3 separate regions of the Homo sapiens genome follow, and regions 1 and 2 are each linked to region 3. The links are contacts of gene promoters, found by promoter capture Hi-C in blood cells and fetal thymus (Javierre and others, 2016). All regions are on one chromosome and are shown on one strand. Each heading gives the region's core, a stretch centred on a gene start or on the middle of the fragment in contact. The rest is flanking DNA. Distances are from core to core; before and after follow the strand shown.

Region 1 (4,597 bases), core at 292-2,791, 460 kb after region 3:
GAAAGTGTGGCCTGATACACACACAGCTCCTCAGCAAGGAATAGTCCAAAAGATTTAAGGAAATCTCTGTTCAATTATTAGCTGACCACTGAGTTAACTGAGCAGAGACTCCAGTGGCTACAAATGATAAAGAATGCAGATTTTACAGAATTCAGGAGTGATAAACAAACAACCACCAAATCACAACAAACTCTGGGCAGGTGGGAGAATCTGATTTCCAGAGTTGCTGCATTTTATTATTTAAAATGTCCAGTTGTCAACAACAACAAAAATGAGGCATGCAAAGAAATAAAGTATGGACCATACAAAGGAAAAAAAGCAATCCATAGGAACTGTCCATGAGGGAATTGTCCATGAGGAAACTGTCCATGTCCAGGAGGAAGCCCAGACATTGACCTTACTAGATAAAGATATTAAATAAGCGATTTTAAATATGTCAAAGAACTACAGGAAACTATGTCTAAAGAACATAGGAAGTATAAGAACACTGTCTTACCAATTAGAGATATCAATAATGAGAGAAATTTTATTTAAGAAGCAAATAGAAATTCTGTAGTTGAAAAAAGTTCTGGAGTACAAAGTATTGAAATGAGGAACTGACTAGAGGGGTTCAACACCCCGATTTGAGAAAGCAGAACAAACCAATGAATTTTTAGATAGCTCAATTGAGGTTACCCAGTCTGAAGAACAAAAGGAATAAAGAATGAAAAAAACCAAACAGAGTCTTAGAGACCAATGGCATACCATAAACATAACAACATGTGAACAATGGGAGTCCCCAAAGGATGGGGGAGAGAGAGAAAGAATATTTGAAGATGTAAGGGCTGGAAACTCCCTACATTTGATGAAAACATTAATTTACCCATCCAAGAAGCAAAATGGATTCCATGTAGGATAAAAGACACCCACACCTAGACACATTATAATCAAGCTGTTGAAAGCCCGTGGGGTGCTCCAGAGAACATTTACCTGATCTCCACAATGAATCCGTTTGGTAGAATGTTGGTGGGTTACCATCCTCCATCTCCTTCATTCCCTCCTCCCCATTTCTTGGCTCCCCTGCAGTGCCAGGCAGATATGCTTATTGCATGGTACTTTAGCAAGTGTAGGTTGACAGCAGGTTTAGTTAGCAACTGCAGCAAAGGGCTTGACTGCTCAGAGACGAGCTTCTCTCTCACACCACACTGTCGCCACCTGGCTCCCGGATCTCAGATTGGGATGGGCTTCATCTTACCTTCAGAGAACCCACAGCCCTTGCAGCTGCTCCATGCTGAACCGGCTCACAGGGCTGAAACCTCACTCATCTCACCAGCAGGCGAGACCACATTTCTTTTCCTGACAGTTGTTATGTTTCTCCCTCCTTTCCCAGCTGTCCTCAATTCTGGTTTCCTTCCTTCTTTTCTCCCCTCCCTTCCTTCCTTCCTTTCTTCTGTCCTCCCTTCCCTCCCTCCCTCCCTTCTATCTTTCCCTCCTTTCCTCCCTCCCTCCCTCATCATCACCACTTAACATGTGAATTTCAGGTCACTCAGTCTAAATTTCCTTAACTCCATCAATCCTGTCTCACTTCCTAATCTCAATTGTTCCATATTATACCAAACATCTCCCTCCCTCCCTCCCTCCTTCCTTCCTTCCTTCCCTTCTTCGGTCTTCCCCTCCCTCCCTTCTTTCTCTTCCTCCCTCCTTCCTTCTTTCCTTCTGCCTTCCTTTTCAGCTAATTCACAGCATTCTTTTCCTGTACCACTCCCCATGTGGTGGCCAAGAGTTTGTTCATTGTCTCATGGCACCCATGATCACAGGGGTTATGGTCTCTCAAATACAAGCCCTCTAAAATGTTCTATGCAGAAAGACTCTGGGGCTAAATAGCTTTGGGAATCTTGCTTGTGGTAAGCCCCACTGCCCATTCCCCTAAGAAAGTCTTACAGAAGTCCTGTGATCAAGAATCCTTTGAAACTTTCCTTTCAAGCTCCCCAAACTTTTTGTCTAAGGAGCCCTCTTCCTGAGTAGAAGCCACTGACATGCAGTGGAAGCAGTTTCTGTGGGACCCACTCTTGGAAACATCAGACTTGGTCTAGAGTTCCAGTTTATTCATACGCTGACAGCCCCCCTGAAAGGCATGTGGGGCTAGCGTGGCAGGAATGAGGTGCCAGGCAAGTAACATTCAGTGGAGGAGGCTGGGAGAAGAGAGTTATGGTGGTGAGAAATCCCTGATGGCTGTGAGCCCCTCTGGAGCTGAACCTGGAGGGTGGGTGGATGAGGGACAGGAAGAGGAGTGGGCACTGATACCTATGCCCAATTTATCTATTTGTGTGTGGCCCTGGCTATAGCAGGGATGGTTTTCAAAAGCATTTTCCCAGTAGGTCTTTTTCATTGAAAAATGTTCTGAGATTGACAAGTGGGATGGGGAGGACAGGGCTGGTCAATTCTGTGGCATAGATGTGCTCCCTTCTCATAACAGAAAGAACATCTTTAGCAATCTGTCCTGTGGAATAGGAAAGCCATGTAATCAGGATTAGCTGTGAGCTCATACTTCTATAATAAATGAATTCTCTGTGGGTGAGAATTCATGTAACATTTTTAATTAAGATAACTGCAGGGAAAAGGAAAGGACCCCTTAGTAAGTGACGCTAGTGAATGGATGATGCCCTTCCCTGCCCCTCCCAGGAAAATGAGACTCAGCCACTAATTGGTGTAATTAGCACTGGAAGTTAAAAGATTTCCCTCCTTTTTTTTTTTCTCCTTTCTTTAGCTTTAGAGTGCCTGGGTTCTTTGGTTTTGATTGCTTGGTCATCCTTTCTTTCCTCTATGAAAGTTCAGGTGGCTCTGGCGGCTTGCCTGAACCCCCTTTTCAGATGGTAATTGGGAGCCTGAATCCTGCCCTCAGGACTGCACCGCCTGGTCCACTGTGAAGTTGGAGTCAGAAGTTAGTCTCTGACTCTTTCAAAACCCTTGCGAGGATTGGTTCGAATGTGTTTTTAGGAAGTTCTGTGGTACACTTGAATTTATACTTGATAGAGGGCTCTTAACTTTTTTAAAAGAAGGCAGCCCAAAACAGAGCAGAAGGGTATAATAAGGTGTGTGTTGCTATGGAAATAATTGAATGAAAATTTAATTTCCTACTGCACCTATTGATCAGGAAAAAAAAGGGAGAGGAGAAAAGGAAAGGTCTTCCTAAGCAGAAACACAATGAATGGGAATATAATTAATAATAATTGAAGAAAATGTCACCCCAAGGGTTTCTCCAAGGAGGCTGATCTCCCTGACAGAAATGGCGGCATCCTCTTTTTGCTGCTTCTTTGTGATGGGAGAGAGTGTGCAGGCGAACCCCAGGGACTCGGAGCTCTGAGAAGCCTCTGGCTTGAGCTCCCGGAGAAGCGTGAAAAAATGTTTTGTGATTCATGGAAAAGCCAGCTCCAGGTGTCGGGGATGCTGCTCTGAGGGGCTTTTGATGCAAGGTTGGTTTAAAGTTCAAAATCCAGAACAAGCTTCTTTGAGAAGTCCCCACTCTAGTAGGTTTCAGAGTGAATTCTTTCAATGGTGTTCTATTAAAATTCAAGGACATGGGTCTCATGAAGCATTAATGGGCAGGTCCTTTACACATTATACAGAAGGAATTGGCTCTAACATGATTTATGTCTTCCCATCTTATCCTAATTCTATATCCCCTTAAATATAGTAATAGGAAAGCCTGGGTCATATTTTTGTTTCCCTAACAGTGAGTGCTACTTTTTAATTAATAGTACTTCACTTGCATGTGTGTCTGATGGAAGCATCAGCTGATGGGGTTACCAAGTCATAACTGAGAAGCCCTTTCCACCTTAAGCCAGTGGCAAAGCTTGGCTGCACAATACAGTTGCCTGGGGAGCTTTGTAAAATCCCAATGTCCAGGCCACACTCCCAAACCAGTTAAAATAGAATCTAGTGGATGGGACTCAGGCATCAGTATTTTTTTTAAAGCTCCTCAGGGGATGCCACTGTGAAAGGTTGAGAGCCATTAATGTAAGTGGAGTTAAACAAAACTCTATAGCGCTGGTGGACATCCTACGTGATAGTTCATGTTAGAAAAAAACATTTCCCTGCCAGGAACCCCTTCTGCGTCTTCGTAGGGCTCCCGTGGTCCCAGTGGGGCCAAAATCTCAGGGTCCTTTCTGCCTTCCTTCCAGTGGTGTGCAAATGTTTAACAACCCACTCCCGGGAATGAAAAAAGCCCCGATGTGTAGCATGTGCTGATTTCCAGATTCCATAAATACTCCCACCATGGTCTCTTTCATCCTACCAAGCGGCCATCGCCCAGCATGGAGTTGGGAGATGTGCACAGCCAGCTCCAGACACCAGTGCCTCCTCAGCTTCACAGTTCCTCACCCCTCCTTTGTGTCCACCCCTGAGTAGCTCATTCTCCCTTAGGTGCTGTTCCAAGTTTCGAGTCATCTGGAAAAATAGTTTTCTGCTTGTGTGATATGCTGGCTTGTCCCGCTCAGGTAACATAACACAGTCTTCTCAGTGTAGATTACCTCTGGAAAACACCACGAGAATGTGCCTGAGGCTGGAGATGTTTAGGCAATTGGCATTGTGGTTATTCTTTTCCCTGTGAAGCTAAGGT
Region 2 (4,216 bases), core at 1,374-3,873, 490 kb after region 3:
TTTGAAGAGCTTTTTTTATTTTTCTTTTAATTTTGTTAATTTTTTCAAGAAACCAACTTTTTGTTTCTTTGATTTTCTAATTTTTAACAAATGTTTTAAATTGTGTTGATTCCTGCTATCTTTATTATTTTTCTCCTCCTACTTGCTTTGTTTTTTTAAATTAAATCTCCATTTCTTAGATCTAAGAATTTAATGATATAAATGCCACCCCCAGCTACTGCTTTAGCTGTTCCCACAAATTACGTTTTATAACTATTTTTGTTCAGTTCGAGATGTCATTTCTAAAGACTTGGCCTAATCTTAGATCCTGAAGATGTTTTCCCCGTGTCCTTTTTTCTAGAAGTTTTATAATTTTGTTTGACATTTAAGTCTATGATCTGTTTGGAATTAACGTTTGCATAAGGTGTGAGATCTAGGTTGAGGTTTATTTATTTATTTATTTATTTATTTTGAGATGGAGTTTCGCTCTTGTCGCCCAGGCTGGACTGCAGTGGCATGATCTCGGCTCACTGCAACCTCCACCTCCCAGGTTCAAGCGATTCTCCTGCCTCAGCCTCCAGAGTAGCTAGGCCTACAGGCATGTACCACCATGCCTGGCTAATTTTTGTGTTTTTAGTAGAGACGGGGTTTCTCCATGTTGGCCAGGATGTTCTCGATTTCCTGACTTTGTGATCTGCCCGCCTTGGCCTCCCAAAGTGCTGGGATTACAGGCGTGAGCCACCACACCCGGCCGGTTTATTTATTTTTCGCCTATGAATGTGCAATTCTTGTGACACCATTTATTGAAAAGGCTATTCCTCCTCTATTGAATTGTTTTTGCTCATTTGCCAAAAATCAGTTGAATATGTCTGCAGGTCTTTGTATGGGTTCCCTGTTCTGTTCTATTGTTATATGTGTTAATGTCTCCATTAGGACCACACTTTCTTGATAGCTATAGCTGTATAGTGAGCTTTAAGATCAAGAACAGCTACTCCTACTTTACATTTCTTTTTTTGAATTGTTTTGGCTATTCTTGGGCCTTTATTTTCCATACAAAAATTGAAAACAAACTTCTTTATGCCTATTGAAAACCTTGCTGACATTTGGATAGAAATTGCATTAAACCTATAGATCTAATTAGGAAGAATTGGCATCTTTATTGTGTTAATTCATCTATTCCATGAATACAGTATGTCTCTCTGAGTATTTAGGTCTTTGATTTATTTCATCAGAATTTTATAATTTCAGCATGCAGCTCTTGTACCTGTTTAAGTATATACTAAGTATTGTAATTTTTTGGAGCAATTGTAAGTGGTATTGCACTTTTTATTTTGGTTTTCACCTATTTGTTGTCAGTGTGTAGAAACGCAGTTGGTTTTCATGTGTGGACTTTGCATCTTTTGACCTTAGTAGGCTTACGTACTATTTCGCTTTTTGTTTTTTGTGTATGGTAAGCCCTCCATATCTGCAAGTTCTGTGTCTGTGGATTCAACCAACTATGGATTGAAAATATTTGGGAAAAATAAATGGTAAAAATCATAACAATACAACAATAAAATATAATACAAAACTTAAAAGATATAACAACTACTTATGTAGAATTTACATTTTGTTAGATATCATAGGTAATCTGGAGATTATTTAAAGTATACATGAGGATTGTATAGGTTATGTGCAAATACTATGCCATTTTATACGATACTTGAGCATCCTCAGATTTTGGTGTCCATGGGGTTGGGAGTGGATCCTGGAACCAGTCCCCCACAGATACTAAGGGACAACTGTAGTTCTCAGGATTTTCTATGTAGATAATTGGGTAGTCTGCAAATAGACAGTAGTATTTGTTTGTTTGTTTTTTCCAACCTCTATGACTTATTCCTTTGCCTTATTGCAGCGGATAGAACTTCCAGTACTACATTGAATAGGTATGTTGAGAGCAGACATACTTGCCTTTTTCCCAATCATAAAGGGCAAGAATTCAGTCTTCTCCCATTAAGTATGATGTTAGCTGCAAGCTTTTTGTACATGCTCTTTATGAGATTGAGAAAGTTTCATTCTATTCCTAATGTACTGAATTTTTATACTGAATGAAGGTTGCATTTGCCAAATCCTTTTCTGTGCAAATTGATATGCTCATATGATTTTTTTTCCAAATTTTGAACCAACTCTGAATACATAGAATGCCACTTGGTCATGATGTATTATTCATTTTATACTTTGTTGGATTAAATTTGCTAATATTTGTTGAGAACTTTTGTGTCCAGGTTCATGAGAGATGTTGGTCTGTAGGCTTTTTGTGTGTGTGCTGTCTTTGTCTGCTTTGCGTATCAGTGTAATACTGGCCTCATAGAGTGAGTTGGGAAGTATTCCCTCCCCTTCTATCTTCTGGAGTGGATTGTGTAAAACTTGTGTTAATTCTCCTTTGAATGTTTGATAAAATTCTCTAGTGCGGCCAGGCACGGTAGGTCACATCTGTAATCCCAGCACTTTGGGAGGCCAAGGCAGGCAGGATCACCTGAAGTCAGGAGTTCAAGACCAGCCAGGCCAACATGGGAAAACCCCGTCTCTACTTAACATACAAAAACTAGCCGGGCATGGTGACAGATGCCTGTAATCCCAGCTACTTGGGAGGCTGGGGCAGGAGAATCACTTGAACCCAGAAGCAGAGGCTGCAGTGAGCTGAGATGGCGTCACTGCACTCCAGCCTGGGTGACAGAGAGAGACTCTGCCTCAATAAATAAATAAATTAATGAATTAATTCTCTAGTGCAACCATATGGACACAGATACTTCTTTTCAGGGGCTTTTTAATTACAAATTCAATTTCTTTAATAACCATAGAACTATTCAGGTTGTCAGTTTCATCTTGGTAGAGTTTTGGTAGTTTGTGGTTTTTGAAAAAGTGTTCATTTTTTTCTAAACTGTAGAATTTATGAGCATAAAGTTTTTCATAATATTCTCTTATTGTCCTGTCAGTGACTGCAAGAGATGTTGTAATAGGCCCTGTTTTGTACTTGATGTTGGTAATATGTGTCTTTTTACCTTGCAAATCTTGCTAGAAGTTTGTCAATTTTATTGATTCTTTTTAACAACCAGCCTTTTGTTTTATCAATTTTCTCTATTGTTTTACTATTTGAATTTTATTAATTTCTGTTCTTTATTATTTACTTCTTTCTGCCTGCTTTGAGTTTATTTTGCTCTTGAGTTTATTTTTCTAGGTTCTTGAGGTAGGAACATAAATTATAGTTTTGGCATATTTTTATTTTATTGTAAGTAAGCTTTTAGTACCATAAATTTTCCTGCCAGAATTATGTTGGTACATCCCACAAATTTTAAACAAAACAGCTTAATTTTCATTCAGTACTATTTAATTTTTAATTTTCTTTGTGATTTAACTTTTGGGCCATGAATTATTCAAAGCATGTTTTAAAATTTCCAAGTGTTTGTGGAAATTTTCATGTTGTCTTTCTGTTATTAATTTCTATTTTGATTCCACTATAGTCAGAGGGCATACTCTGTATGATTTCAAATCTTTTAAATTTGTTAAATGTTGTTCTGTGACTCAAGATATGGTCTATTTATGCACATTTTCAATGTTTGTTTGAAAAGCATATGCAGTCTTTTGTTGGGTGGAGTATTCTATAAATCTCAATTAGATCTGGTTAGTTGATGGTATTGTTCAATTCCTCTCCGTCCTTGCTGATTGGTTAGTTGTTCTGTCAATCATTAAGAGCGGGATATTGGGCAACACTCAGTCTCCACCCAAACTCTACCATGTTGAGTTCTGTGGGTCATGTCTGCTGCCTCAGCCTCCAGGGCCTTGCAGGAACTCAGCCCGTCAGTGTTGCTACTCCAAGCTCAGGTCTTGCCATGGGCCACTCTGGCAGCAATCCAATCTACCAGGAAATATGGGCACAAACATCACCTTTGCTGAAGACAGGCACCACCACTGGGTGTATTGTGGTGGTCATTGATGCAGTAGTGGATATCCAGTTTGATGAGGGACTACCATCTATTTTAAATGCCCAGCAAGTACAAGGCAGGGAGACCAGGCTGGTTTTTGTGGTGACCCAGCATTTGGGTGAGAGCACAGTAAGGATTATGCTATGAATGGTACAGAAGGCTTGTTTAGAGGCCAGAAAGTCCTGGATTCTGGTGCACCAATCGAAAGTCCTGTTGGTCCTGAGACTTTGAGCAGAATCATGAACATCATTGGAGAGCCTATTGATGAAAGCGGT
Region 3 (4,172 bases), core at 476-2,975:
GGCGGCCAGAGGATAGTAGAGGGCCAGAAAGGAGGTCCCCAAGGAGGCTTCGGGGTAGGGTGTGAGGGGATCCTCAGGCAGACTGGGGAGCTGAGCCTGTTGTAACCGAGCGAGTTACAGAGAAACGCCGCACTTTGAGACGAATTCAGGGGTCCTTTATTAGCTGGCGACTGAGAGACAGCTAGTGCTCAAAATTCTCTCAGCCCCAAAGAAGGGGCTTGATTTTCTTTTATACTTTGGTTTAGAAAGGACAGGTGGGGGTCTAAAACAATCTTACAGAAGTAAAGCAGGCAAAAAGTTAAAAGGATAAATGGTTACGGGAAAGCAAACAGTTCCAGGTGCAGGGGCTTAAAATCTATCACAAGGTGATAGACACGGGGCTTTGGGCGTTATCAACCGGACACAAACGCCGGGGCTCTGGGTGCTATTAACCGGGCGAATTCCTGGGAACTGCGGATATAGCTTGCCACAGTATCTTATCAGTTAATTGCATTCTTGGATGTGCTGGGAGTCAGCTTGCACAAATTAAGTCCTTGAGGAAGCGGGGTGGGTAAGGGGCTGCAAATGAAAGAGCCAAGATGGAGTCTGTCTGGCTCTCTTAGCTAAGGGAGAGTCAATTCAGGTTAAAACAAGGTAGGGTATCACAAGCCCACTTAACAAGGGCAGCAGGACCCCAAGAAGAAAAGCTTTAGGAGTCTCCACAGTGGGCCCAGGGCAGTTCCACACAGGTCTCTGAGGCCCCACAGACAGGAGAGCTGTGACGACTCCCTTAGTGCCCAAGAAAGCAAGGAGGTGGTGGGCAAGGGGCTCCCAGAGGCCTTGGGGCACTAGAGGGGAGATGGAGCCGAGGGAGTGGCTCTGCAGGCCCCTCTCTGAGAGAGTGCATGAGGTGTGGCCCCAGGCCCAAGGGTAGGGGGTGCACAGGGTGAGGGAAGGGAGGAGAGGAAGAGGAGGAGGAGGTGGTGGCCACAGCGGGATGGCACTCAGCCAGGTTCAGCTTCGTGGGAAAGGTCCCAGGTGGGCCGGGCTAGCACTGGGGATGCCCTGGCTCTGTGTCTCGGTTGGGTGGCTGACTCCTCCTGGAACGCATCCCTGACATCCTCCAGGCTGGCTTGGGGATACTCTGGGGACACACAGTGCCCAGGCTTCCGGCCTCCCAGCCCTGGCTCCCTGTGGACTCAGCTGCCCCCAACAAGCCTGCGAGCCACTGGAGAGCAAGGGCAGGCTGTCCTTGCCATCCAGATGCCTGGCACAGAAGGGGTTCTCACCTTCGGGGTATGGGCTGACTCAGTGGGTTTCTCCTCCCTCCAGCTCTAACCTGCCTGTGGAATAAACAAATCACTCCTCTGGGTTGTCTAGCTGGTGCAGGCCCCAGGGCGACGCCCCTTTGAGGGGAAAATGGGGGCATTCCAGTTTCCATGAGCCCTGGGACTCCCCTCCTTCCCACCACTGCTGCCTACCCTCCGGTTCCAGGTATGCAGGCTTCCTCCCTTCTGACGGTTCCTGCTGCTGGAGTCGTCCTTCCTGAAACCCTGCCTTTGCTTAGCCTCATTCCCATCTCTCAGTCCCATCCTGCAGCTGGGCAGGCAGTGCTGGGCCCCGGAAATGCCCTCTGCCTCCCTGGAGCACGTGGCCTGTGATTTTCCTTGAGCACAGCACTTTGTGACTTTGATGTAAACATCAAACACAGCCCCCTTTCCTGTCTTCGCATCCAGGAAATAGGTTAGTTTCAGACAAGCCTGCTTGCCGGAGCTCAGCAGACACCAGGCCTTCCGGGCAGGCCTGGCCCACCGTGGGCCTCAGAGCTGCTGCTGGGGCATTCAGGTAAGCGGCTGTCCTCGGGCCTTCTGCCTGTGTCCTGCCACCAGGGCCACCCCAGGGGGCTCTGGGAGACCTGGCAGAGGATGAACCCCCCCCATCCATGAGTGAGAAACCCTGGCGGGGTGTGACATCCTCCCCCGGGGTGTGTGCGGAGAGTGTGAGCGGCAGGGCCTCCCTCTCAGGCTGGGGGCTTGGGCTGCAGGGAAATCCAAACCGGCTTTGTAAGCCCCGATTCCTCACCCAGAACCGGCTCTCCATTGGCATTGGGACCAGAGACCCCGCAAGTGGCCTGTTTGCCTGGACATCCACCTGTACGTCCCCAGGTAAGTGGTGCCTGGGTGGAGTGGCACCTGGCCACCGTCTCCATGGTGGGCTGTGTCTGGAGGAGGAAGACAGAATATTAACTGGGAGTCAGGAGGTTGCTGGGAGGACCAGGAGAGCTGGAGGACTGGGCTGGGTGGTGACTGGCTGGAGATGGAGGCAGACGGGGCTTGTGGCCACGCTGAGGGAAGCAGCTCCCCCTCCAGAGGCTTGGCCGAGCGGGGCTGTTCAGGGGACACGGTGAGGCCTGCTCAGTCCCTGGGCTCCTGCTGGGCCCTGTTTGGCTGCATCCTTGGCTCTCGGAGGCAGAGAAACCTCCAGAGAAAGCGCATGTGCACTCTGTGAAGATGAGGGGGCTGCTCACCAGGGCCGTGAGCTCCATCAGCAGAATGCTGTGATTCCTGTGAGGAGTCCAGGGCAGGCTTGAGCCACTTGTAGGCGAGCTCAGGTTAGAGGAAGACCTGGAGAGAGAAAGAGCAAAACACCGAGTTCTCCTCAACTGCTGTGTGTTCTCGGCAAGTTGCTTGGCCTCTCTGACCTCAGTTTGTGCATCTGTTAAATGCACATGCAGATATGGGCACCTGGCAGGCGCCTGGTTCCTGACTGTTGGCGAGAGGCTGGGAAATGTGTCCCAGGTAGGAAGCATCCCCGACAGGAAGGAACAGGAGTTCATGAGGTGAGCAGCTCGAGATGATTCATTACTCTCGTCTTGGTTGGAACAGTAGGCAGACAGGAGGTGTTTAATAATGCCTTGCTGAGAGATCAGGGTCAGGGACTCCTAAGGTGCCACCTGTGAAGCTGCCTCCTGCTGAATCCAGAGCTTCCTTTTCCTCTTCACACCTGCCCTCCATCCTCAGCCCCACTGCCCTGGCAGTGTTGCGGGGGTGGTGTTGATGTGCACACTCTGGAGCCTGGGGGCCTGGCTTCACATTCTGGCTCTGCCACTCACCAGCTGTGTGACTGGACCAGTCACCGCATCTCTCTGTGCTTCCCTCCCAGGGCTCTCGGGAGGATAAAGAGAGTGACTGTATCCACACTGCCCGGCACATACAGGTGCTGCAGAAAGGTCTCACTAAAACCCTCATTATCCTCACTAGCTCTGGGTGGCCTCGGGCTCTGGACTCCACAGTTCCTGTATGCTCTCCGGGGCTGCAGCACCCAGACCACCCCGTGCTGACCACTCCCTGCCCCACCCCAAGGTACAGGGTTAAGGCAGCCATTCTCATCAGAGCCAATTTTACCTCCTCCCGTCTCCCTGGGACAGTTGATAGTGCCTGGAGACAGTTTGGGTTGTGACCCAGCGGGTGTTACTGGCATCCAGCATGTCCAGGACAGGAATCCTGTGAACAGCCTACAAGGCCCAGGACAGTCCCACCCTGTTCCATTGTCTCTATCAGCCCCTATCCTCCTGACTCACACCGCCTTTTCCCATCTCCCTTTTACAGTCACAGAGCCTGAGGCCCAGAGAGGGACCGCTGCTTGCTGAGGTCACACAGGCAGTGGAGGCCGGAGTTGGGGGCCTCACTGGAGGGGCGGTGGAAGGGCATTGTTCAATCAACAGACACTTGGAGAGTGTGCTGGGTTGGGGAATCTGACCCTGACCCCGCACCAGCCCAGCTCTCCAGGGTCTCCTAATAGACATTTGCTGGAGTGGTTAGTGCTGGCTGCTGCATTGGACAGACCTGAGTTCAAATCCTGGTGGCCCCTTGCAGGCTGCATGTTCTGAGAGTGACATTGACCTCTCCGAGCCTCAGTTTCTTTAGCTGAGGAGTGGGATAACAGTTCCCACCAAATGTAGTTGTGGTGAGAATTAGAATAAATGGCTAATGCTCGCAAAGGGTAGTGCAGTCCCCAGCACAGAGGCTGTTGTGATTGTCCTTACACACTTGACAAATATTTGTGGGGAGGAAGCAGGAGCTTCCATAGAAAACAAGACAGAGCCGTGGGCCCTGCCTCGGGGAGCTCAGCCTGGTGAGGGACTGAGGAGCAGAGACAGAGGCCATCAGGGCTGTGATGTGGGAGGATGGGGA

The links. The method cuts DNA at HindIII sites, captures the fragments that hold promoters and counts their contacts. A CHiCAGO score of 5 or more calls a contact.
Region 1: a fragment that was not itself captured here is called in contact with the fragment with the promoter of ZAP70 in region 3 in 1 of 17 cell types (erythroblasts); the score reaches 5.4 in erythroblasts.
Region 2: a contact is called between a fragment that was not itself captured here and the fragment with the promoter of ZAP70 in region 3, in 2 of 17 cell types (erythroblasts and endothelial precursors). The highest score is 5.5, in erythroblasts.

Annotation. Positions count from the first base shown.
Region 1 is chr2:98,174,843-98,179,439 of GRCh38, forward strand. The region is part of intron 8 of VWA3B (von Willebrand factor A domain containing 3B); the gene reads left to right. Among named protein-coding and RNA genes, the nearest start is that of VWA3B, 90 kb to the left of the region's middle. The HindIII fragment of the contact is 3,877 bases long and covers 1-3,480 here.
Region 2 is chr2:98,202,399-98,206,614 of GRCh38, forward strand. The region is part of intron 12 of VWA3B (von Willebrand factor A domain containing 3B); the gene reads left to right. It also overlaps the pseudogene ATP5F1BP1. Among named protein-coding and RNA genes, the nearest start is that of VWA3B, 120 kb to the left of the region's middle. The HindIII fragment of the contact is 1,262 bases long and covers 1,993-3,254 here.
Region 3 is chr2:97,711,851-97,716,022 of GRCh38, forward strand. ZAP70 (zeta chain of T cell receptor associated protein kinase 70) reads left to right here and starts at 1,726. Exons shown (of 14, transcript NM_001079.4): 1 at 1,726-1,824; 2 at 2,066-2,144. RefSeq lists enhancers at 1,534-2,507, 3,739-4,172. The HindIII fragment of the contact is 8,251 bases long and covers 685-4,172 here.